Linked DNA regions of Homo sapiens: regions 1, 2, 3, 4, 5 and 7 are each linked to region 6. The links are contacts of gene promoters, found by promoter capture Hi-C in human tissues and cell types (Jung and others, 2019). All regions are on one chromosome and are shown on one strand. The core of a region is centred on a gene start or on the middle of the fragment in contact, and the rest is flanking DNA. Distances in the headings are between cores, read along the strand shown. Region 1 overlaps GNG7 (G protein subunit gamma 7). Region 2 holds the start of ADAT3 (adenosine deaminase tRNA specific 3). Region 3 overlaps BTBD2 (BTB domain containing 2). Region 4 has its middle 6.1 kb from the start of CSNK1G2. Region 5 overlaps GNG7 (G protein subunit gamma 7). Region 6 holds the start of LINGO3 (leucine rich repeat and Ig domain containing 3). Region 7 holds the start of GNG7 (G protein subunit gamma 7).

The links. Contacts are between HindIII fragments. The study calls those that stand out against the background at their distance.
Region 1: a fragment that was not itself captured here is called in contact with the fragment with the promoter of LINGO3 in region 6 in 2 of the 25 tissues and cell types used here (spleen and stomach).
Region 2: a contact is called between the fragment with the promoter of ADAT3 here and the fragment with the promoter of LINGO3 in region 6, in 8 of the 25 tissues and cell types used here (IMR-90 fibroblasts, adrenal gland, bladder and 5 more).
Region 3: a fragment that was not itself captured here is called in contact with the fragment with the promoter of LINGO3 in region 6 in 2 of the 25 tissues and cell types used here (adrenal gland and spleen).
Region 4: a fragment that was not itself captured here is called in contact with the fragment with the promoter of LINGO3 in region 6 in 2 of the 25 tissues and cell types used here (pancreas and spleen).
Region 5: a contact is called between a fragment that was not itself captured here and the fragment with the promoter of LINGO3 in region 6, in 5 of the 25 tissues and cell types used here (dorsolateral prefrontal cortex, pancreas, spleen and 2 more).
Region 7: a contact is called between the fragment with the promoter of GNG7 here and the fragment with the promoter of LINGO3 in region 6, in 4 of the 25 tissues and cell types used here (IMR-90 fibroblasts, mesenchymal stem cells, spleen and 1 more).

The regions. Positions count from the first base shown.
Region 1 is chr19:2,663,870-2,667,282 of GRCh38, forward strand. The region is part of intron 1 of GNG7 (G protein subunit gamma 7); the gene reads right to left. Among named protein-coding and RNA genes, the nearest start is that of MIR7850, 35 kb to the left of the region's middle. The HindIII fragment of the contact is 9,228 bases long and covers 1-3,413 here.
Region 2 is chr19:1,903,501-1,906,893 of GRCh38, forward strand. ADAT3 (adenosine deaminase tRNA specific 3) reads left to right here and starts at 1,899. Exons shown (of 2, transcript NM_138422.4): 1 at 1,899-1,939. SCAMP4 (secretory carrier membrane protein 4) reads left to right here and starts at 1,899. Exons shown (of 7, transcript NM_079834.4): 1 at 1,899-1,939. RefSeq lists enhancers at 893-952, 1,233-1,292, 2,313-2,402 and silencers at 1,623-1,952, 2,003-2,152. The HindIII fragment of the contact is 31,876 bases long and covers 1-3,393 here.
Region 3 is chr19:1,991,390-1,994,728 of GRCh38, forward strand. BTBD2 (BTB domain containing 2) reads right to left here. Exons shown (of 9, transcript NM_017797.4): 3 at 1,631-1,787. Among named protein-coding and RNA genes, the nearest start is that of BTBD2, 23 kb to the right of the region's middle. RefSeq lists an enhancer at 1,923-2,423. The HindIII fragment of the contact is 3,931 bases long and covers 1-3,323 here.
Region 4 is chr19:1,933,311-1,936,815 of GRCh38, forward strand. No RefSeq gene overlaps it. Among named protein-coding and RNA genes, the nearest start is that of CSNK1G2, 6.1 kb to the right of the region's middle. The HindIII fragment of the contact is 4,225 bases long and covers 1-3,505 here.
Region 5 is chr19:2,644,547-2,648,092 of GRCh38, forward strand. It overlaps GNG7 (G protein subunit gamma 7), which reads right to left. Exons shown (of 5, transcript NM_052847.3): 2 at 1,678-1,734. Among named protein-coding and RNA genes, the nearest start is that of MIR7850, 16 kb to the left of the region's middle. The HindIII fragment of the contact is 9,525 bases long and covers 1-3,546 here.
Region 6 is chr19:2,306,793-2,310,131 of GRCh38, forward strand. It overlaps LINGO3 (leucine rich repeat and Ig domain containing 3), which reads right to left and starts at 1,362. Exons shown (of 2, transcript NM_001101391.3): 1 at 1,284-1,362. The HindIII fragment of the contact is 18,961 bases long and covers 1-3,339 here.
Region 7 is chr19:2,701,394-2,705,204 of GRCh38, forward strand. It overlaps GNG7 (G protein subunit gamma 7), which reads right to left and starts at 1,301. Exons shown (of 5, transcript NM_052847.3): 1 at 1,253-1,301. RefSeq lists a silencer at 1,197-1,586. The HindIII fragment of the contact is 6,266 bases long and covers 1-3,811 here.

The DNA.
Region 1 (3,413 bases), core at 753-3,252, 360 kb after region 6:
TGGGGTGGGGCCGTTCTGGGCACTGCACAGTGCTGAGTAGCATCCCTGGTCTCCACCTACTCCAGGCCAGGAGCACCCCCAAGTCACGGTACCCACAAATGTCCCCAGACATTACCAGTGTCCCCCAGGGGGCAGGCTTGCCCCCAGTTGAGACCCAATGCTCTAAGGCATGTCCCTCAAGGGCAGGACAGCCAGGGACCTGACATTTGATGACAGGCCTATCCTCCACCGCCCCCCAGGCCCGGCTGCACTTCCTCCTCTGGGAACTGAGTGGGCAGGACGGGCTGTCAGAGCCCCCTTCCCTTCCCACGCTGACATTCTGCCAGCACGTGGCAGGGGCGTCTTGTCTCGTTGGAGGCTGGATATAGAAACACAGCCCTGTCCTTTGTGCCATCGCTGAAGTTGTCAACCTCAGCCTTCACTCATCACCACAGCAACCATCTAAATATGTCACCAGCAAAGTGCTGATTGCAAAGGAAGGGGGCAGAGAGGCCTGGACGGGCTCTCACCCAGGTGCAGGCGCAGGGGAGGTGCCGGGACTGGGGGAGTGACGTGGCTGCTTCAGAGCCACGAGACTGATGACGGCCAGGCCGGGCGTGACCTGGAACAGGCTCCACTGCACCCTGGGGCACACAGAACAAAGGGGCAGGCCTGCTTGACCCTGAGGGTTCAAGGTCTCTGTGAGCCGAGGTCAAGGAGGGGGAAGGAACAATCAGACGGTTGGCTCTGTGTCCTGCACCCTCAGTGCTCTAGAGACCCTCCTCACCCAGTCCTCTAGGTCACTCTGGGAGGATGGCCCCGGCTGACACCGTCTGCCCCATCGGGAATCTATTCTGGTGTCTACTGTGAGCAGGGAGCAAACTCATTTTTTTGCCAGTTAATGCAAGGTCTCTCCCCTGGAAACCGTGGACATTCAGAGCTGGGTCATTCTCTAGGGTGCAGCTGTCCCGGACACTGCAGGGTGCTGAGCAGTGTCCCTGGCCTCCACCCACTCCACGCCACGACCATCCTCAAGTTGTGACAACGACAAATGTCCTCAGACAACACCCAGTGTCCCCTGGGGCAGAATCACCCTCAGTTGACACCCCCTGAATTAGGAAATTCCACGGACCCCCAAGATACTCTGTCCCCTGATCTTCTGTCCTGCTGAGGTCCCAGGAGGCTGCACACATTGAAATCCACACCTTTAGTTGGGGGGAGGGAGAGAGGAGGTGAATCCCACGAGCTGGGGTCCCCTGGTTTACACCGTCTGCCCCATCAGGAGTGTGTCCTGGTGAGCAGGAAGCAGACTCCATTTCTTCTCCAAATAATGAATGCTGAGTCTCTCCTCCCAGGCACGGTGGACACTGGGGCTGTACCATTCTCTGGGATGGAGCCGTCCTGAGCACTGCAGCACGCTGAGCGGCATCCGTGACCTCCAGCCACTGCATGCCCGGAGCACTTCTCAATGGTGACAGCCACAAATGTCCCCAGACATGGCCCAGTGTCCCCTGGGGGGGGGGGGGCAGGATCACCCTGCCGTGCTGGACAGTCCTCGCCACACCCCACCTCTTGGAACTGGAATGTCTGGTGAGACGGGCAACAAGGATTTGGGAAGAGGGCCATGCGGGACAAAAAAAAGAAAGAAAATGAGAACGAACGGATTTCTATTTCCCCTCAATGTGAAAATAGCTCCACTGAGTCCCGAGGAAGGATTGGGTGGGGACGTACGCTCTGGTATGGCCAAGGTGGAGTGCTGGACAAGAGCTACTCCATTCTGACTTCACGACTCGCTGTCTGGCTGGGTGACCTTCAGTCCCTTGCCACTGTCGCTGTGCCTCAGTTTCCCACTCTGTAGAATGCACATCGAAGCAGCATCCACCCTGTGAGACTGGTTTTGGAGATTACATAAATGAGTATCTATAAAATGTTTAAAGTGGTGTCTGAGCCATGGGTCATGGCACATACTGGCTTTATTATTTAGAACCTGGATTACCTCCTTTTATTATTCTTTTTCAATTTATTTTACTTATTTTTTGAGATGGAGTCTTGCTCTGTCATCCAGGCTAGAGTGCAGTGGTGCGAACTTGGCTCACTGCCTCTGCCTCCCGGGTTCAAGTGATTCTCCTGCCTCAGTCCCCCATATAGCCAGTATTAGAGGCGCCCGCCACCACGCCCAGCTAATTTTTGTATTTTTAGTAGAGACAGGGTTTCACCATGTTGGTCAGGCTGGTCTCGAACTCCTGACCTCAGGTGATCTGCCTGCTTCAGCCTCCCAAAGTGCCACCGTGCCCGGCTTATGTTTTAATTTTTATTGTATTTATTTATTCATTTTTATTTTGAGACAGAGTCTTGCTCTTGTCGCCCAGGCTGGAGTGCAGTGGCACGATCTCAGCTCACTGCAAACTCAGCCTCCCGGGTTCAAGGGATTCTCCTGCCTCAGCCTCCCGAGTAGCTGGGATTACAGGCACCTGCCAACATGCCCGGCTAATTTCTGTATTTTTAGTAGAGATGGGGTTTCGCCATGTCGGCCAGGCTGGTCTTAAACTCTTGACCTCAGGTGATCTGCCCACCTCAGCCTCCCAACGTCCTGGGATTACATAGGTGTGAGCCACCATGCCTGCTTTTTTAGTTTTTACTTTTCATAGAGATAGGATCTTGCTATGTTGCCCAGACTGGCCTTGAACTCCTGGGCTCAAGCGATCCTCCCTGCTCAGCCTCCCCAAGTGCTGGGATTACAAGTGTGAGCCACCTTGCCTGGCCAGATTACCTCCTTTCTGGACTAGACCAGAGCACAGCAAAGTGTTTCTGTCTAGGGCAGGATGTAAAAATTTTCAGCCTTACGGAACATATGTTCTCTGTTGCAGCTACACAGTTCTGCTGTTGTATTTTGAAAGCAGCCATAGACTATGCATAAATAAATGGGCATGGCCCATCGTGTGCCAATAAAACTTTATTTATAGTAACAGGTGGCCTGGATTTGCCCCCAAGGCCATTGGTTGAGACCCTCGCAAAACAGTCTAAGACAAAATAGCACCATTTCAGCAACTAAATACTCTCATCTAGGCAGTGTTCCAGTCTTCCATCCTGAAATTAGATGAGGGTCCTGTCAAAAAAGATTCACCTCCGATCCTCAACATCACACGGCAGAGTTAGCACAGAGCATCCCTTCACACAAAACACACACTCATCCGGGCGCGGTGGCTCACGCCTGTAATCCCAGCACTTTGGGAGGCTGAGGCGGGTGGATCACTTGAGGTCAGGAGTTCGAGACCAGCCTGGCTAACATGGTGAAACCCAACCCGTCTCTATTAAAAATACAAAAATCAGCCGGGCAAGGTGCTGCGCCTGTAATCCCGGATACTTGGGAGGCTGAGGCGGCAGAATCGCTTGAACCCGGGAGGCGGAGGTTGCAGTGAGCAGAGATCACGCCA
Region 2 (3,393 bases), core at 649-3,148, 400 kb before region 6:
AAGGAAAAAAGAAAGCAACTGAGAGCGAAATAGTTTCCTGGAATGCTGTTTTTTTTTTTTTTTTTTTTTTTTTTTTTTTTTGAGATGGAGTCTCACTCTGTCGCCCAGGCAACAGAGTGCAATGGTGCGATCTCAGCTCATCGCAACCTTCGTCTCCCGGGTTCAAGTGATTCTCCTGCCTCAGCCTTCCCAGCAGCTGGGATTAAAGGCCCCTGCCACCATGCCTGGCTAATTTTTGTATTTTTAGTGGAGATGGGGTTTCGCCATGTTGGCCAGGCTGGTCTCGAACCCCTGACCTCAGGTGATCCACCCACCTTGGCCTCTCAAAGTGCTGGGAGTACAGGCATGAGCCACCGCATCCGACCTTGAAATGCACTTTCTTTGAAACACGTCCTCCCCTTTCTCACCATAAACTCCCTCACACTCTGCAGGTTTACCTAACTGTATGCATCTAATTATGTGATTACCTAAAAGTTCCAGGAACAGGCTGGGCACGGTGGCTCACGCCTGTAATCTCAGCACTTTGGGAGGCCGAGGCGGGCAGATCACCTGAAGTCAGGAGTTTGAGACCAGCCTGACCAACATGGAGAAACCCCATCTCTATTAAAAATACAAAATTAGCCAGGTGTGGTGGCGTGTGCCTGTAATCCCAGCTACTCGGGAGGCTGAGGCAGGAGAATCACTTGAATCTGGGAGGTGGAGGTTGCGGTGAGCTGAGATCGTGCTGCTGCACTCCAGCCTCGGTGACAAGAGCGAGACTGTCTCGAAAAAAAAGAAAAAAGAAAGAACGTTTTAGAGCTAATCTGGAGACAGGCCAAGCACGGAGACCCACCTGCAAAATCCCAGAGATTTCCTCAAGGTGGTCTGCAACCCGGCCCTTATTAGGATGAGGCCAGCCTGCGCTTTTAAGCCACCAAAATTCATGAACACACAGAGCTTATAATCAGCACCTCCCCTGCACACCCACCATTCCCAGTTCCCCTTTTTTAGCCCCTCACCCCAGCCTCAAGTTTGAAGGGGTTTCTGGAGGCCTAAACCAGCTGCCTCCCTGCTGCGAACTCTGAAAGGAAGTCACCTTCCTTTCACTGCACTTTTTCCTCCTTACTGGTTTGTCAAGACTCTGGCATCGGAGCCTGAGCTGGTTACAGCCAGGCACTGTCAAGCTGTTGGGGGAGGGGATGACAAATTCCCTCCCGTTGAGAACCACTTGGTTAAACCTGTCCAACTGGAAGGAGTAACAAATTGCTCATAAAATATGCATGTTTTGGTGAAACCCCTTCTCTACTAAAAGTACAAAAACTAGCCAGAAATCGCTTGAACCCAGGAGGTGGAGGTTGCAGTGAGCCTAGCACTGCACTCCAGCCTGGGTGACAGACTGAGGCTACGTCTCAAAAAAAAAAAAAAAAATGTGCTTGTTTGGCCCAGGAGAGGCAAGAGGTCTTCTTCACCTACGTTACTGGTGAGAAAACTCAAACCTGAGGGCGGCCCACGCCGGAGTGCAGTAACAGGCAGAACTGGAACCTGGCCCCATCCCGGACTCAGGGGACGGGTGTCATATACCCCCTCTGCCTCATCCTTCCCACTCTGCTAACCTTCCAAAGATCCCCCGGGTTCCGAGTTTTCCCTGGCCGCTTGATGGGATTCGAACCTGCAAACTCAGCGCTCGCCCAGCGCAGCGGCCCCGCCTCTCCTCCCCTCCCGCCGCCCGGAGGTCATGTGAGCGCAGTGCCGGAGCGGGGCGGGGCGAGGCGGCGGCGCGCAGTGCCTACTAGCAATTGTAGTCCTTGCCCCACCTTGGCCTGGCGAAGATCCCGCCCCTGGAACTACGCTCCCGTCGTGCTCCGCGGCTCCAGGCGGAGACGAGGCGGGGTGAGGTGGGTTGGGCCGGGCCGGTTGCTAAGACTTGGCGAAGCGCTGCGCTCGCGCCCGGATCCCTCAGGTAAGCGCGCGGCCCCGAGGTCTCGGGTTCTCCAGGCTCAGACTTCCCCAGAGGGGGAGTAGGGGCTGACATGGGGGGTCTCGGCGGTGAGGGGCGCCGGCCGTTTGTGGGGAGAAAACGGGGGGCCCAGGCCAGCCTCGCGCGCGTCTCGGGCGGGCCGGTGGGCGACGCGGGGAGGCGGCGCGAATGCGCGTGCGCGCGCGCGCGCGGCGCTGGCCTGGGGGAAGCCTCAGGACCGCGCTCCCCCGGGCCTAGCGCCTTTCTGCGCGTGTGCGCCCTTATGGTCGGTGCGGGAGACCCCGTATCCTCCAGCTGCTTCCGGTGGCCCTTCCTCAGGTCATGTCCCGCAGTCCCCTGCCTCTGAACCGCGCTCTCGCGAGTTTCCGTAGCCTTCGCGTCCTTCCTCCCCAGCTCTGATTCGCCTTTATGTGGAGATTCCCCTAGGCCTTGGTACATCCCCAGAATTGACCATCGTTCCTCATCGTTACCTAGAGTATGAGTTTTTCAGGTTTTTGTATCACAGGCCCCCAGTTATCTCCCACACACTACCCCGAGGACCGAGGTTCCCCGCTGTCTTGCAGAGAAGGCCTCCTTGTAGGGTGGCCAGAAACAGAGGATCGACTCCGTGGAAACAAGGACGGCTGGGTGCAGTTCCTCACCCTATAACCCCAGCACTTTGGGAGGCCAAGGCGAGTGGATCACCTGAGGTCCGGAGTTCGAGACCAGCCTGTCTAACATGGTGAAACTCCATCTCTGCCAAAAATACAAAAATTAGCTGGGCGTGGTGTCACGCGCCTGTAAAACCAGCTACTGGGGAGGCCAAGGCAGGAGAATCGCTTGGACTTGGGAGGTGGAGGTTGCAGTGAGCCAAGATGGCACCATTGTACTCCAGGCTGAGCAAGCTAGCAAGACTCACTCTCCAAAAAAAAGAAAAAAAGATTTTTTTTTAATAAGCCAGGCATGGTGACACATGTCTGTGGTCCCAGCTACTTGGGAGGCTGAGGCAGGAGGATTGCTTGAGCCCCGGAGGTTGAGGCTGCAGTGAACTGTGATGGCACTACTGCATTCCAGCCTGGGCAACAGAGCGAGACCCTGTCTCTAAATAAATAAATAAAATACATACGTGTAGCGCCGGCCGTGGTGGCTCACGCCTGTAATCCTAGCACTTTGGGAGGCCAAGGCGGGTGGATCACGAGATCAGGAGATCAAGACCATCCTGGCTAACACGGTGAAACCCTGTCTCTACTAAAAATAAAAAAAAGCCAGGCATGGTGGTGGACGCCTGTGGTCCCGGCTACTCCCAAAGGAGGCTGAGGCAGGAAAATGGTGTGAACTCAGGAGGCAGAGCTTGCAGTGAGCCAGGATCGTGCCACTGCACTCCAGCCTGGGCGACAGAGTGAGACTCCGTCTCAAAAAAAAAAAAAAATTGTGTGTGTGTGTGTGTGTGTGTAAAG
Region 3 (3,339 bases), core at 108-2,607, 320 kb before region 6:
AGGGACCCGGGCAGGCCTTTCTGCGGGCATCCTCCCGAGGACACCTCTCAAGTGGGTTCGTAGTGGTTTTAGGGGCAGGGAGGCTGAGGCAGCCACAAGATGAAGCCCGGGGAGTGAGCTCCAGCCTCCTCTCAGCTCAGGCAGAGGCCTCTCCAGCAAGGCGACCAGATGACCCGGACAAGAAACCCCTCCCTGTGGGAGTCCGGGATGCCCTGCATCTGACCTGCCAGGATGGAGGGGGAGAAGGTTCTGGGTCCTTTCCAGGATGCCGGACCCCCAAAGCCCATTGGAGGACCCAGTGCCGCTGTCCCCTCTGGCCACCCTCCACCCCCGACCAGGAGCTCACGGCTCCCAAGCGGCCGTCCACCCGTACTGGCCCCACGTCCTCTCAGCCTCCCTGGCCTGCACGACCTCCCCAGCCCCCGCCCTTTGGGCTGCACAGAGCCCAACTGGGGTCCCCTGAGATCCCTGGCCCTGCTCTGTCTACCTGACATTTCCTTAGAGAGAGAGAGAAAGTTCTCTCTGGTTTTTTTTTTTCTTTTTTTTTAGCCAGGCGCGGTGGTGGGGGCCTGTAATCCCAGCTACTGTGGAGGCTGAGGCAGGAGAATCGCTTGAACGCTGGAGGCGGAGGTTGCAGTGAGCTGAGATCGTGCCATTGCACTCCAGCCTGGGCAACAAGAGAAACCCCGTCTCAAAAAAAAATTATTTTACTTTTTTTTTAGAGACAGGGTCTCACTCTGTCACTCAGGCTGGAGTGCAGTGGCGCCATCTCCACTCACTGCAGCCTCAACCTCCCGGGCTCAGGCAATCTTCCTGCTTTGGTCCCCCAAGTAGTTGAGATTCCAGACATGCACCAGCGTGCTTGGCTAATTTATGAAATATTTTTTTTTAGTAGAGATGAGGTTTCACCATGTTGGCCAGGCTGGTCTCAAACTCCTGACCTCTGGTGATCTGCCTGTCTCAGCCTCCCAAAATGCTGGGATTACAGGCATGAACCACAGTGCCCGGCCTGAATCTTTTTTTAATTTTTTGTAGAAACGGGGTCTCTCTATGTTGCCTAGGCTGGTCTAGAACTCCGGGCCTCAAGCAATCCTCCCTACTTGGCCTCCCAAAGTGCTGGGGTTACAGGCGTGAGCCACCGCACCCTGCCAATAATTTTTTGAAGTATCACGGAAAAGTCCAAAACACATCTTTTTTTTTCAGGTGGAGTCTCGCTCTGTCATGCACGCTGGAGTGCAGTGGTGCGATCTCGGCTCACTGCAACCTCCACCTCCCAGGTTCATGCAATTCTCCTGCCTCAGCCTCCCAAGTAGCTGGAATTACAGGTGCCCGCCACCACGCCCGGCTCTTTTTTGTGTTTTTAGTAGAGATAGGATTTCGCCATGTTGGCCAGGCTGGTCTGGAACGCCTGAGCTCAGGTGATCTGCCCGCCTCGGCCTCCCAAAGTGCCGGGATTACAGGCGTGAGCAACCACGCCCGGCCCAAAACACATTTTACTACCAGGCAGGAGCCTGCTGCCTCCCGGGCCCGCCCCCGGCCCCGCCTCCGCCTCCAGCCTCGGTCCGCCCCACCCCGGCCCCGCCTCCAGCCAGGCCTGGCCCCGCCCCCGCCTCGTACCGGCCCCGCCCACCTGCGTGAGCAGCATGAAGGCGTTGTCGGCTCGCAGGTTCTTCTTCAGGAACTCCACGCAATGGGCCTCGAGCGCTGGCACCGCGTACTTCTTGGCGGTGTATAGCGTGGTCATCACCGTCTCCGGGCCAATCTGCACCTCGTCCGAGTAGAGAAACCTGCAGAAGCAACGCGGGTGGCCGTGAGGTGGGACCGCCATGCCCGCCCCCAGGGGAGAGCGTCAGGGGACCACTCAGACCGTTAGACTCGGCCACCGGCCCTTGAGCTGGCAGGACCCAAACACCCACATCAGGTTCCCCGAGGAACCTTCCAGAATTAGCCCCTGTCCGTTGCCCTCTGACATAGGGACACGACTTGGCAAGGTGGTCACCCATGAAAACGAGCAAGAGGCTGAACCCATCTACACAGCACACACCCGGAAGCGTCTATATGGCCTGTCTTGTTCTGCCCGGGATGCCCCAGGAGAGGGCACTGGGAGCTGGGTGTCTCCTTCTTGGGCACCTTTTCCATGAGGAACTGTTGGTTCCCCACCTCGGGCACCACCGAAAACCTCAACCACTTCTGGGTGGATCATAGAACCCAACACGCTAATTAGGATCATGGATAATCATGGACGCTATTACCACCTGCCAGCGAGGGGCCCACACGACACTGAATACAGATCAGAAGTTGGGCCGATCAAAAATAGAAGCACAGGCTGGGCCTGGTGGTTCACGCCTGTAACCCCAGCACTTTGGGAGGCTGAGGCGGGCAGATCGCCTGAGGTCAAGAAGTGCCAGACCAGCCTGGCCAACATGGTGAAACCCCGTCTCTACTAAAAATACAAAAATTAGCTGGGCGTGGTGGTGGGCGCCTGTAGTCCCAGCTACTTGGGAGGCTGAGGCAAGAGAATCGCTTGAACCTGGGAGGCAGATGTTGCAGTGAGCTGAGATCTCGCCACTGCACTCCAGCCTGGAGACAGAGCGAGAATCCGTCTCAAAAAAAAAAAAAAAAAAAAAAAAAAAAAAAAGCAGCACAGGCCGGCCTGGTGGTTCACGCCTGTAATCCCAGCACTTTGAGAGGCCGAGGCGGGCAGATCACTTGAGGCCAGGAGTTAGAGACTAGCCTGGCCGACATGGCAAAATCCCCCTCTACTAAAAATACAAAAATTAGCCAGGTGTGGTGGCAGACACCTGTAATCCCAGCTACCTGGGAGGCTGAGGCACAAGAATCGCTTGAACCCAGGAGGCGGAGGTTGCAGTGAGCCAAGATCGTATCACTGCACTGCAGCCTGGGAGACAGAGTGAGACTCCCTCTCAAAAAAAAAATAAAAAATAAAAAAATGTCTCCAGCCTGGAGCAGTGGCTCACATCTGTAATCCCAGCACGTTGGGAGGCAGAGGCGAGAGGATTGCCTGAGACCAGGAGTTGGAAACCAGTGTGGGCATGGTGAGATCCTGTCTCTAAACACATTTTTTTTTCAGCTGGGCACAGTGGCTCAGGCCTGTAATCCCAGCACTTTGGGAGGCTGAGGCAGGCGGATCATGAGATCAGGAGATCGAGACCATCCTGGCCAACATGATGAAACCGGGTCTCTACTAAAAATACAAAAATTAGCCAGGCGTGGTGGCGTGTGCCTGTAGTCCCAGGTACTCAGGAGGCTGATGCAGGAGAATCACTTGAACCCGGGAGGCAGAGGTTGCAGTGAGCCAGGATCGTGCCACTGCACTCC
Region 4 (3,505 bases), core at 319-2,818, 370 kb before region 6:
TGCCCAGCCTACTGTCGAGCTCGTAAGACCCTCCCTCAGAAGTCTCAAGGCACCACTTCCCCTGCCTTCTGTTGCTAAAACAGGTCACAGGAGCAGCTACATTCAGGGGAGGGGAAATGAACTGTGTCTTTCCGTGGGAGGAGCAGCAAAGAATCTGTGACCATCACACCCAGCTTTTGAACCACTTCTTCTTTGTGTCTCAGTGTTTGTGGCATGCAGCATCCCTGTTGCCTGGGTCCAGGATGCCACCCTCCTACTGGGGTTGCAGCACCAAGGGGCTGGGCATTCCATCGAGCTGAGGGGTGGGGGCTCTGGATGGGAGGCTCCCTGGGGGGAGCTCACATCTTCCATGAAGCATCATGGTCATTGTTGCCCTGTCCTGCACCCTGTCCACTGCAGGCTGCCCTCTGTGGCTGGCCTTGGTGACAAGAGATGTGGGAGAGACCCTGGTCACCACCATGGGAGGAGTCCCCAGGCACCAGGGGCAAATGAACAGAGTGAATGCCAGGAGGACCATTTAGGTGCAATATGACCAAAAATAAGTTAAGTCCAAGTGGGCTGCATCATCAACAAGAACATCCCCCAGCCTCCATGAAACAGCCCAAAACCTGGAGCAAGACGGTTCCCTGACGCTGAGCGATGCCATTCACAGCAGCGTTCCTGAATACCCCCCATGCAGGCACTCACATGCTCACACACACAATACACAAACCAACACACACCACACACAGGCATGCCAAACACAGGCACACAAATGCACACCCCCCCATAGACCCACCGACGAACACACACACACACACCCAGATGCACAGGTGCGCACACACACCCACGCACACAAAGACCCAGAGACAGACATGTGCACACACATACATATGCACACATGTACGCAGATACATATGACACAAATGCATGAACACATGGACCACACATACCAACATGCCACCTCACACAGACACACCTAACACACACACACCCGTGCACACATGTACATGGACATACACACTGGAAAACAACAAACACATATACAAAATGCAGGCCGGTTGCGGTGGCTCATGCCTGTAATCCCAACACTTTGGGAGGCCGAGGCAGGGGGATCACTTGAGCCTGGGAAGTGAGGGCTGCAGTGAGCTATGATTGAATCTCTGCACTCCAGCCTGGGTGACAGAGGGAGACCCTGTCTCAGAAAAACAAAACACGAAACACAAAATATGACCGGGCGCAGTGGCTCGCGCTTGTAATCCCAGCACTTTGCAAGGCCGAGGTGGGTGGATCACAAGGTCAGGAGATCTAGACCATCCTGGCTAACACGGTGAAACCCCGTTTCTACTAAAAATACCAAAAATTAGCTGGGCGTGGTGGTGGGCGCCGGTAGTCCCAGGTACTCGGGAGGCTGAGGCAGGAAAATGGTGGGAACCCGGGAGGTGGAGCTTGCGCCACTGCACTCCAGCCTGGGCGACAGAGCGAGACTCCGTCTCAAAAAAAAAAAAAAACCCAAAATACAAATGCATGGACATGTATCCACACACACCAACATGTTACATCATAGACAGACACACAAAACACACAAACATACACCCATCCATGGACATACACACAGACACACACAAACATCAACACACAGCATCCCACACAGACACACAAACACACAGCCATGTACCCTCAAAGGACGCTGCAGGATGAGCCTTCATTCTCTGGGACAGCAGAGAAAGTAGACAAAGGAGAGAAACTTCTCTCAGAGTCACCCATCCTCTGACTGGATCCCGTGCCCCTGTGAAGAGGCAGATCCCAGTGCCCCACACTTGGCTCTGGGGCCACCCACTGCCGCCAGGCTCTGTCCCTGCGGTTGGTGGGGGTGAGGGCAGACCCTGCTCTGTGCTGCTTCCTCACCCACCAAAACTTCCTGACGTCGCCCTGTTCCGTTGGCTGCGCTGCATATGGGAATGCAGTGCTGGGCAGGCCCAGCCTCCCAGCTGGGAAGGGGTGTCGCCACTGGCTGCAAAGACAGGTCTTCTTTTCCCCCAAGTCTGTGTTTATGCCCTACTAGAGACTGTTGGGTGTAATTCCCAGAAAGTTCTGGAATGATCTAAAATGAGGAAATAGAAAAAAGTTGTAGAATCGGGCCAGGCGCAGTGGCTCATGCCTGTAAACCCAGCACTTTGGGAGGCTGAGGCAGGTGGATCACCTGAGGTCATGAGTTGGAGACCAACCTGGCCAACATGGCAACATGGGCAGACATCACCAATTAATCATCGAATGATGTTTCTCCTGACCTCCTTCCTCCTGTGTACAGGGTAGGCATCACCAATCAAGCAATGATGTTGGTTGACTGGGGAACGCTGCTGTTTGTCCTGCCTTCCTTCCTCTTGTGCACAGGGCAGACATCACCAATCAACCAATGATGCCCACACTGCTTCCCTCCCATGCACAAAGCAGACATCACCAATCAATCGAGCAGCACCAGGAGGAAACCAATTTGGCAGTTCAATCCGTCTTCAACTCTATCCTTTTATAGATAAGGTTGAGGCCCAGGGACCTGGTCAAGGGCAACTACAGGGCAGATCCCTCCTCCTCTTCCTGGGAATTAGCTTTGTCTCTTGTTCCTGGAGCAAATTCAGGAAAATTGCAAGGTCATGTACATTTTCAGCCCAGGGCATGAGTCACTTGATCCCTGCTGTCCAGAGCTGGACCCGGAGATGATGGCCAGGACTGTCCCCTTGCAGGGAGGCCACTGAGGCTGGCAGGGCCAAGACTGGGCAGTGAGCCACTCCAGGCGGGAAAGCCCTTTGTCACTGGAGCTGCTCTGAACGCTGCCGCCAAGTCGCAGGCAGCTGTTGTCATCTGCTCAGCGTCCTTCCCCTTCCCCGGCAACTACTCCTCCTGCTGTGGGGAACCTGGCCCACCCGACTCCTGTGTTCTCAGGGCGCTGCCCCTCGTGGAACCTGCCCTTCTGGTCACCAGGACATTGCCTAAACCAGGCCTGGCCAGTCATCTGGGAGGGGCCAATGCCAGACAATAAGAGACTTTCCTGGGATTTTATAGCGATCCTGGGAGAGAAGAGCTCTGTTTTATTTGGGGGTTGCTAAACTAAGCCACAGCTGCCACCACGGACGGAAGAAGCTTGGAGTGAAAGAATGAAGCCAAGGCACAGAGACGGAGAGACAAGGAGAGGGAGAGAGAGAGGGAAAGGTAGAGACAGAGAGAGATGTGGGGAGGGAGAGAGAGACAGAGAGATAGAGAGGTAGAGATAGAGACAGAGGGATATAGAGAGGGAGAGAGAGACGGAGACAGAGGATGAAAGAGACGAGACACAGTTGGAGATAGAGGGAGAGATGCAGAGACAGAGAGAGATAGAGAGGGAGAAATAGAGACAGACAGAGCTAGGAAGGGAGAGAGAGACAGAGAGAGGAAGAGAAAGGGAGAGACACAGAGACAGAGACAGAGAGCTTGAGAGACAGAGAGAGAGGCAGAGGAAGAAAGAGGCAGAAAGACAAATAGAGAGACAGAG
Region 5 (3,546 bases), core at 99-2,598, 340 kb after region 6:
TTCAGAGTCCTGCAACCATCACCACTAATTCCAGAACATTCTAATTATGCCAAGAAGAAGAAACCCATCAACCATCACTTCCCATGCCCCTCCCAGTCTCGGCACCCACGCATCCCCTCCCTGCCTCTGTGGATCGGCCCGTCCTGAACCTTTTGTAGAAAGGGGATCACATGCTGTGTGGCCTTTTGTGTCTGGCATCTCTTACTGAGCGTGACGTCCTCAAGGTACATCCACACTGTGGCCTGTGTCAAAGCTTCATTCCTTTTCATGGCTGAGTAACACTCCATGGTGTGGATGGAGGATGTTCTGCTGATCCATTCACCCATTGATGGACATTTGGAGTCTTTGCCTTATTGCTAAATTTGAACATATTCTTGACTTTTGAGTACATCTGTTTCTGAATTACCTCTCATGACCATTGACTACTAAGGATGAGACCAAAATGATTTATACTGGGCTTAGCTAAAATATGCATTTTTAAGGTACACATTACATGCCATAAAATTCAAGTGAAGTGTACTGCTCAAAGATACTTCAGGGCCGGGTGCAATGGTACGCACCTGTAATCCTGGCACTTTGGGAAGTCAAAGCAGGAAGATCACTTGAGCCACGGAGTTCAAGACCAGCCTGGGCAACAAAGCAAACCCTAACTCTTTTCTGTTTTTCTTTCTTTCTTTCTTTTCTCTCTCTCTCTCTCTTTTTTTTTTTTTTAGAAGGAGTTTCGCTCTGTCACCCAGGCTGGAGCGCAGTGGCATGATCTTGGCTCACTGCAACCACCATCTCCCAGGCTCAAGTGATTCTCGCACCTCAGCCTCCCGAGTAGCTTGGACTCTAGGCACCTGCCACCACGCCTGGCTGATTTTCCTATTTTTAGTAGAGATGGGGTTTCACCATGTTGGTCAGGCTGGTCTGGAACTCCTGACCTCAGGTGATCCACCCATCTCGGCCTCCCAAAGTGCTGGGATTACAGGCATGAGCCACCATGCCTGGCCAAAACCCTAACTCTTAAAAAAAAATTTTGTTTTAAGATTTTTAAGTAAGTTCACCAGGTTGCGGTCACCCCGACCCGACCATCGGGTCCATTTCCACGTCCCTGGCAAGTCTCTGGTGCACATTCATGTCCCCAGCCTCCAATCACCACGAGTCCCTTTCTGTCCCTATGGCTTTGCCTTTTCTGGACATTTCTGCCTTCCTTTCTACTTATTTTTAAATGGTTTCCTCTTCCTACATTTTAAAAGCCACTCATGATTCTCTAGGGAGAAAAACGAGGAGTAAATCAACAGAGGAGAGCTAAAGGGCCAGCGACGGGTCACTCTCCAGGTGCACAGGAGATACGGGTGAAGGCTCCTTAAAACTCCCTACCATGGCACGAAGACACCGGAAAGGCATGCAGCACCGCTGTGGGCTTCCCACCCTGACCCCATCCAGGGGCTCCGGCACCAGCAGGACCAGTGAGTGCCACGTTCCCTGCCTCGTGGGCGGGAAACTCTGCCAGGAGCTAGCAGCTGTTACCCACACCTGCTCCCCATTACCCATACTTGGTGGATACAAACAGCCGACAGACCCAGGTCAAGGCCAAGACGCCCGCCTTGACGGCAACCCCACGTCTTACATCCAGGGTGCAAAACAGCCAACTGAACCTCAAATCATAACAAAGAAATGCATTACAGCACCGACCTGTGCAGGAGGTCTCGCCGTCTGCAGCACCGAGATCCCGAAACCAAGCTCCACTCCCTGGAAAAAACACATAGAGTTAGTTTGGCGTGGCTTGGCTGGAGGCACCATGCATGTGTTGATGGGGTCAGCATTGGAGAACGGCCTCGCGCTTGTGATTGGACAAGGACAGAAATCATTTTGGCAACCAGGCGCGGTGGCTTAGGCCTGTAATCCCAGCACTTTGGGAGGCCAAGGCAGGTGGATCATGAGGTCAGAAGTTCGAGACCAGCCTGGCCAACATGGCAAAATCCCGTCTCTACTAAAAATATAAAAATTAGCCAACGTGGTGGTGGGTGCCTGTAGTCCCAGCTACTTAGGAGGCTGAGGCAGGAGAATCCCTTGAACCCGGGAGGCAGAGGGTGCAGTGAGCTGAGATCGAGCCACTGTCCTCCAGCCTGGGCAACAGGGCAAGACTCTGCTTCAAAAAAAAAAATAATAGAAAAGGAAAAAAGCAGAAGACAATTCACTGAAAATATTTATTATTAGAGATTTATGACGTTATTCCTAATACATTTTCCACGTGTTTGAAAACTGAACTGAGTGCAAGGATTGATGTTTCTACGGCTCTTCACAGTTTATCAAAAACATCTCTGTACATCTTTGGAGCCTCACGATCTCCCTGGGAGGAAGAAGAAGGGGCTGAGTTAGTCCCACGGTGCCCAGAAGGCACCCAACGTATCCAGGTCTGCCCAGGACTTTTCCAGAGTTAGCCTGAAAGTCCTGCATCCTGGGAAGTCCCTCAGCCCCAGCTCAGCTGGTACGGGCAGTCTCTGAGCAGAACCAGGCTGGCACCACATGCCTGAGGCTGCGACCAGGAACTCCCCACCTCGGGGGACTCGGGGGGACCCTGCCACCATCACTGACAGGACAAGCTCCAGGGCCAAAGCTGTTCCTGCAAACACCGTGGTTTATATGAAATCCTTGCCTCCCTCTGGAGCCTGGAATCCTGGCATGGGTCAGGCAGCAGGGGCAGCAGAACCAGCCCCCATAGGAACGTGGGTGCTGGGTCTCTGGGAGCCTCGCTGGTGACAGTGCTTTGGGCTGTTGTCCCAGCTCGCTGCTGGGGATGTGGCGTGTCCCGCGTGACACATGGGGAGAGGGCCTGGAAGCTGGGCCTAGAAGCCGGGCCTGGCCTCCCCGACCCACCCCACGAGCCTTTCCCTTCCCAAACTCTGCTCTGTGCTCCATGTCCTCTTGCTGGGACAAACCACAGTCACAAGGAGGCCTCATGCGGAGTCCAGGGTCCTCCCAGCGAGTCGCCCCATCTCTACAAAATGACCCCATCTTGACAAAAAAAATTTAAAAATTAGGAGGGTGTAGTGGTGCCCGCCTGTGACCCCAGCTACTCGAGAGGCTGAGATGGGAGGATCGCTTGATCCTGGGAGATCAAGGTTGCTGTGAGCTAGGATTGCACCACTGCACTCCAGCCTAGGCAACAGAGTGCAATCCTGTCTGAGAAAAAATAAAAATAAATGCCACATGGGGCCAGGCACGGTGGCTCACACCTGTAATCCCATCACTTTGGGGGGCCGAGGTGGGAGGATCACCTGAGGTCACGAGTTCGAGACCAGCCGGGTCAACATGTTGAAATCCTGTCTCTACTAAAAATACAAAAATTAGCCAGGTGTGGTGGTGGGCGCCCGTAATCCCAGCTACTTGGGAGGCTGAGGCAGGAGAATCGTTTGAACCCGGGAGGCGGAGGTTGCAGTGAGCTGAGATCATGCCACTGCACTCTAGCCTGGGTGACAGAACGAGACCCTGTCTCAAAAAAAAAAAAAAAAAAAAAAGCCACTTGGGATCCAGGATAGGATCCTAAAACAGAAAAAGGAC
Region 6 (3,339 bases), core at 112-2,611:
CATCATCGAGATGGGGACAGGAGCTGGGTCTACAGGGGAAGCCCGTGGGTTCTTCCCACTCAGATCCTGTCTCCGACGATGGCTGCTGCTTCGGCTCAGAGAACAGCCAGGGTAAGGCCATGCCGCGGCAGCCCACCCCACACCAGCCTCCTGATAAAGCCAGCACCACCCTCCCTGAACCTGTTTCCAGCCTGCGTCCTCCACCTGACCACTCACACCTCACACCTTCTGCATCCTCTCCAGGCCACTTCCAGGGAGCCCTCCTGGGTTGCTCTGGTTCTCACAGCTCTGTTGTCCCTGAAGGCTCCCCCCAGCCAAGCCCCAGATCGTCCCTCTGCAAATACCACTGCACAGCAGACGCCCGCTCCCCACCCCCGCCGGAGCAAGGGTGTCTGCAGCCTCGCTGCGTCCATGGTTTAGCCAGGGACCGCTTGCTAAAATGCAGCTTCTGGGGCACATCGCCTCAGAAGTTCTGACTCCTCAGAACTGGGGGGGCCGGGACACCGGCACCGTTAGCGCCCCAAGCACACGTTGAGAAACCCAGTTACATGGTGGTCTCCAGCGTAAGGACCCGGGGCTTTTCTTGTGCCCGGACCAAGGCACGAGGTGCTGCTCCCCTAAACTTGTTGAATGGGACTCAGGGCCTCCCCTGGCCAGGCCCCAGAGGCCCGGGAGGTGGCGGCACCCACTCAGGGTGCCCAGGCCCACCATTTCTGGTGCTATTCAGACGCCCCCAGAGCAGGGGGACTCAGCCCTATGCCCCCAGGTCCCTCCCCGCCAGGCCGGGCCGTCAGCTCCAGCGATGGAGCAGGCTCCGGTGTGGACCCCAGATACCCTTTGCGTCTTCCAGCTCCGCACCCCCAGGCTGGACCAGACCCGGCTCGGGGGAGACAGGGCAGGAAGGCGCGGGCTGCAGGCTCTATTCGGACGTTCCCCACACCCCAGACCCAACCAGTGCCCCCTTCATCTCCTCCTGGAGAGGAGCGCATCCTCCCAGCGTCCCCAGTGCCCCGGGGAGATGCCCACCCGATTCCCCGCTCCTTGGCGCCCCAGAGGAGGGGCGGGGGGCCCCAGGGTGGGGAGTTCGCCCCCAAAGTTTCCAGGGGGAGCGTCGGGGGCCTGGCAAGGAGCGATGAGCCCGGGAGGGGTGCGCGGGGCAATTTCCCCCGGCTGAGGATGGGGTCGCGGGTTGGGGGCTTTGGGCGGCAGGGTCGCAGGGTGCAGGTGAGGGGTCCCCAGGTCTGCGGGCGCGCCCCACGCCGGGCCCCGGCACGGCCACTCACCTGGGCGGCTCCGCCGCGGACACGGCGCGGGCTGCGGCGCGGGGGCCGCCCGGAGCCGACACGAGCAGCCGCCGCCGCCGCCGCCGCCGCCGCCGCCGCCTCCCGGGCTCCGCCGTGCGCGCCGCCGCCGCGCGCAACCGCCCGCCGGTCTCCTCGGCGCGCCTGGCGGGGGCGCGCGGGGGCTGCGCTGGGCCGCGTGCGCGGCGGCTGGGGCCGCAGGTGTGAGAGGCCACGTGGGCGCAGGTGCGGGGACACTGGGAGCGCGGGTGCAGAACCCCTCCGTGCGCATCCCGGGCGCTTCGTGTCCGAGGACCTCCTGTCCCCACGGCCTGGGTGAGCCTGCGGAGACGGCCGTGCCGTGCAATAAACGCAGGGGCACCCCAAGTGCAGCAGGTTGTTCCGTGTGGAACCTTCTGGAAGCTACCATCGCCTCCTCTGCCCCCCGTCCCCCACCCCTAGTCCAGGCCGCCACCATCTGCACCTGGACATCTGCCACAGCCCAGCCCAGGCCCATTCCTTATGTGGCCCTCAGAGGAAGCCCCTCAGAGGAAGCTTAGCCACTGGGCTCCAGAACCTGCCGTGATTCCCTATTGCCGTGAGGGTCCCGTCTGCACCCCACCTACCCTGGAATTTCTCTTTCTTTCGTTCTTTCTTTCTTTCTTTCTTTCTTTTTTTTTTTGAGATGGAGTCTTGCTCTGTTGCCCAGGCTGGAGTACAGCGGTGCCATCTTGGCTCACTGCAACCTCCGCCTCCTGGGTTCAAGCGATTCTCCTGCCTCAGCCTCCCAAGTAGCTGGGATTACAGGCACCCGCCACCACGCCCGGCTAATTTTTGTATTTTTATTAGAGACGGATTTTCAGCATGTTGGCCAGGCTGGTCTCAAACCCCTGACCTCGGGTGATCCACCCACCTCGGCCTCCCAAAGTGCTGGGATGACAGGTGTGAGCCACCGCCCGGCTGCCTGCACTGTTTGGTCTGCCGCACCACCTCCTTCCCCCTGGCCTGTCCTCACTCACTCTTTCCCGGGCTCCACCCCCTCAGCCTTCCTCAAACAGGCCAAGTCCCTCCAGTCCCAGGCCTTTGATCTTCGCTGTGCCCAGCTTGGACAGCCTTTCTCTCTGTCCCTCCATCGAGCAGCTTGGAGCCTCTCAGTTTGTCTAATGGGCTTGTTCCCCAATGTGCCTTCCGCCTAGCACACAGCAGCGCACACACCAAGTGCACTGCGAGTGCTCATGGAAAGTTTTTTACCTTTTTTTTTGTCTTTTTTTTTTTTTTTTTTTTTTGAAATGGAGTTTTGCTCTCGTCACCCATTCTGGAGTGCAGTGGTGCAATCTTGGCTCACTGCAACTTCCACCTCCCGGGTTCAGGCGATTCTCCTGTCTCAGTCTCCCAAGTAGCTGGGATTACAGGCGCCCATGACCATGCCTGGCTAATTTTTGTATTTTTAGGGGAGATAGAGTTTCACCATGTTGGCCAGGCTGGTCTCGAACTCCTGACCTCAGGTGATCCACCCGCCTCGGCCTCCCAAAGTGCTGGGATGACAGACGTGAGCTACTATGCCCGGCCCCTCACTGCATCTTCTAAAAGCCACATTTAGCCTCCCTGTCTCACAGATGAGCAAACCAAGGCTGGGAGATGCCATTTGTCCCAAGTGAGGGGTGAGAAGGAGGCCTCGGGAACCTGTGTGTGTAACCTTGCCCTGTCTGCCCCCTTCACCCACTCTGCAGTCCTCCCCACCAGCTGTGTATTCCCAGTGGCTTTGGCGGTGGCCTGGCACTCACGCAGCCACCTGTGACTCAAGCAGGCTCTGTTCCCAGACTGTCGCGTTGGCTGGAGGCCCAGAAACCGCATCCCTGGGAGGCTGCAGGCCAGGCCCCCCACAGGATGCTGTGGGGGGCGGGTATGGTTCAATTCCTGGCCCCAGAGAGGTCCAGAAGGACTTCATGACACCCCATGCTCTCCCCACCAAATGGCCCTGGGCTGCTGTGCTGTGTGACCCCAGTAGGGGAGGTCTCCTTCTCTCTCTGAACGTGTTTCTTTCTCTGTAAAGTGATGC
Region 7 (3,811 bases), core at 51-2,550, 390 kb after region 6:
CACTAACTCACCCCAACTTCCTTCTCCCTGAACCCCCTTCCACCCCACACACTCACAAGCTCCCCATTTCCCCTGATAGCCCCCAGACCCTTTCTGGAACAAGCCTGACCCCCACCTGTATGCTCCAGCCACTCCCTGGCTCACCCCAGCTTTGTCCTTCTGCCCCTTTTCAGCTAACCCTAACCCCTGGGCCGTCAATCACACCCCCCCATCTTCACCAACCCCATTCCTCAGTCCTCTCCCCAGACAACCTCAACATCTAATTCCCTCTGCAGCCCCCTCTCCAATGAACCCCACTTCAAACTCCATCCCCAGCCCCCTCTCCAGCTCCCTGCAAACCTCAACCCCACTCCCAGCTCCCTCTTCAAAGAAGCTGCACCCTTGACTCAACCCCTGTTCCCCGCTCCAATTAACCTCAACCCCCAACACCATCCCCAGCGTCCTCCCCAGCTAACTCAGATTTCCAATTCCACTTCCAGCCCCCTCCCCAGCTAACCTCGACCTACAATTCCAGCCCCCTCCCCAGCTAGCTTGGACCTCCAATCCCACTCCAAGCCCCCTCGGCAGCTAACCTCGACCTGCGACTCTAGCCCCCTCCCCAGCAAACTCAAGACCTCCAATTCCACCACCAGCCCCTTCCTAGCTAACCTGGACCTGCAATTCCAGACCCCTCCCCAGCCAACTCAGACCTCCAATCCCGCTCCAAGCTCCCTCCCCAGCTAACCTCGACCTGCAACTCCAGTCCCCTCCCCAGATAACTCAGACCTCCAGTCTCACCCCCAGCCCCCTCCTCAGCTAACTCAGACCTCCAATCCCACCTCCAGCCCCCTCCCCAGCTAACCTGGACCTGCAACTCCAGCCTCCTCCCCAGCTGGCCCTGATTTCTAAGTGGAGTCCCAATGCCCAGACCCAATCCTTCCCCAGCTAACCTCGATCTGCACCCCCTGCCCCGTCCCCAGCTAACCTCGACCTGCAACTCCCGCCCCCTCCCCAGCTAGCCCTGAGCCCCAAGTGCAGTCCCAATCCCCAACCCCAGCCCCTCCCCAGCTAACTTCGACCCCCTAAGCGCAGCCCCGTCCCCAATTCCAACCCCAGCCTCCAGTTGCAGCCCGGGTCCCCAGACCCAGCCCCCCTCCTCAGCCGACTCCGACCCCCAACTCGGTCCGCAGCCGAATCCGAGCTGTCCCAGTCCCCTCTCCGGGACGCCGGCCGCGCCCTCACTTCCCCTGGCCCGGTTCGCGGGCGCCCTTACCTGCGCTCGGGCCCCGCGGCCGCCTCAGCCCCGCCGCGCAGCCGAACCCTCCGCCCCGGCCCGCGAGCGCTCGCTCCCCTCTGCGGGGGCGGGGCCGACACTCGGGGGGCGGGCCCTGGCGTCCCGGCAAGGCCAATCGCGAGCCCCGGCTGCGGGAGGCCGGAGCGGGGGCGGGGCGCGGGGCAGGCAGCGGGGTAGGCTGCGCCCAGGAGAGTGGGGCGGGGCTCCGGGCGCGGGCGGGGCCGGGGGCGGGGCGAAGAGCGGCTTTCCAGGGTGACTTCGTGACGTCAGGAAGGCGCGAGTAGTTTCGCGAGTTCGAATCCCGCGCTAGGTGAGCTGGTTCGAATCCTGCATGCCAGCTCCGGGGGCTCATTTGCTGGGGAAGAATGTCAGTGATCATAACTGCTGCACCGCTTTCTTGAAGACTTTATAGGCTCCCTCTCGTGGGACCCTCCGCATAAGGCCAGAAGGCGAGATTACTATCCACATTTTACAGAGGTGGAAACTGGGTCTCAGAAAGGTGAAACCTAAGGTCATTTGCCCAAGCCTGTCTCATCATTTCCAAGATTTCTCAGTTTCCTAACTCATGGCCCTGGATCCACAAATTCCTGAGCCCCAACACAGATGGAATGAACCAGAATCCTATAGGGAACTGGACCCTGAAATCTGTGTTTTGTTTAGTTTTCGTTTTGTTTTTGAGACAGGGTATCACTCAATTGCCGTGGCTGGACTGCAGTGGTGCAGTCATAGCTCACTGCAGCTTTGAAGTCCCAGGCTCAAGCAGTCCTTCCACCTCAGCCTTCCGGGTAGCTGGGGCCACAGGCACGCACCACCACATCCAGCTAATTTTTGTATTATTAGTAGAGACAGGGTTTCACCGTTTTGGCCAGGCTGGTCTCCAACTCCTGACCTCAGGTGATCCACCTTTCTTGGCCTCCCATAGTGCTGGGATTACAGGCGTGAGCCACCGTGCCTGGCCCTGGCTAATTTTTTTTTGTTAGAGATGGGGTCTTGCTATGTTGCCCAAACTGGTCTTGAACTCCTGGGCTCAAGTGATTCTCCTGCCTCTGCCTCCCAAAATGCTTGGATTACAGGCCTGGAATCTTCATTTTCCACAAGCTCCCTTGGGAATATTGGAAAACACTTTGTATGTCTCCAAAAGCAGTACACAGCCCTGGAAGGAAGATGGAGCCACCATATTCTGTGACCTCAGGGATTTCATCAGGCGCTGACACTGTGTGTCCTTGCCGCCCCACCTGAGCCCTGGGATTGGAGCTGCTGGCCAAAATCCAAGATAAACTTCCCCAGGGTTCCTGTCATCCCTGCAAGAACCTCCCTGCTCATCCTCTGGACTCCAGTGGCCTGCCCTGCAGGGCACAGAGAAACCTCCATCTCCCTGCTTGCCCTCCTCCAGGCTCTCCCCAGCTGGCATCCCCCAAGAGGAATGACTGTCTAGATAGAGCTTGGGAAGGGCACGGTGGCTCACGACTGTATTCCCAGCACTTTGGGAGGCTGAAGCGGGAGGATCGCTTGAGCCCAGGAGTTCAAGACCAGCCTGGCAACATACTGAGACCGCAACTCTACAAAAAAATTAAAATATTAGCCAGGCCTGGCGGCGCACACCAGTAGTCCCAGCTACTTCGGAGGCGAAAGCAGGAGGATCGCTTGAGCTTAGGAGGTTGAGGCTGCAGTGAGCTTTGATCACACCACTGCACTCCAGCCTGGGCGATAGAGTGAGACTCTGTCTCAAAAAAAAAAAAAAAAAGTGTTAAATACACAATGCAATATGATTCGGCCATAACAAAGAATAAAACCCTGTCATTTGCAGCAAAATGGATGGGACTGGAGGTCATTATATTAAGTGAAAAAGTGAAATAAGCCAGACACAGGAAGACAAATAGGGCATGTTGTCACTGATACGTGGGAACCAGAGAGTTGATCTCATGGAGGTAGAGAGTAGAATGATCAATACCAGAGGCTGGAAAGTTGTGTAGGTTGAGTGGGGGGGAAATGAAAAGAGGTGAGTTATGAGTACAAACATTCAGTTAGACAGAAGGAATACATTCTAATGTTTGATAGCAGAATAGGATGTATTCTGCTATCAAATATAGTATTAGAATAAATTCTAATGTTTGATAGCAGAATAGGGTGACTGTAGTTAGCAACAATGTATTGTACATTTCAAAATAGTTAGAATAATGGTGGCTTACGCCTCTAATCCAAACACTTTGGGAAGCCAAGGTAGGAGAATCCCTTGAGGGCAGGAGTTCGAGACCAGCTTGGGCAACATAGCGAGGCTTCATCTCTATTTAATTATTATTATTATTATTATTTTCTTTTTTGTGTGTGTGAGATGGAATTTCGCTCTTGTTGCCCAGGCTGGCATGCAATGACGTGACGTCAGCTCACCACAACCTCCGCCTCCCGGGTTCAAGCGATTCTCCTGCCTCAGCCTCCTGAGTAGCTGGGACTACAGGAACGTCCCACCACGCCAAGCTTATTTTTTAGTACAGACGGGGTTTCACCGTGTTAGCCAGAATGGGCTCGATCTCCGGACCT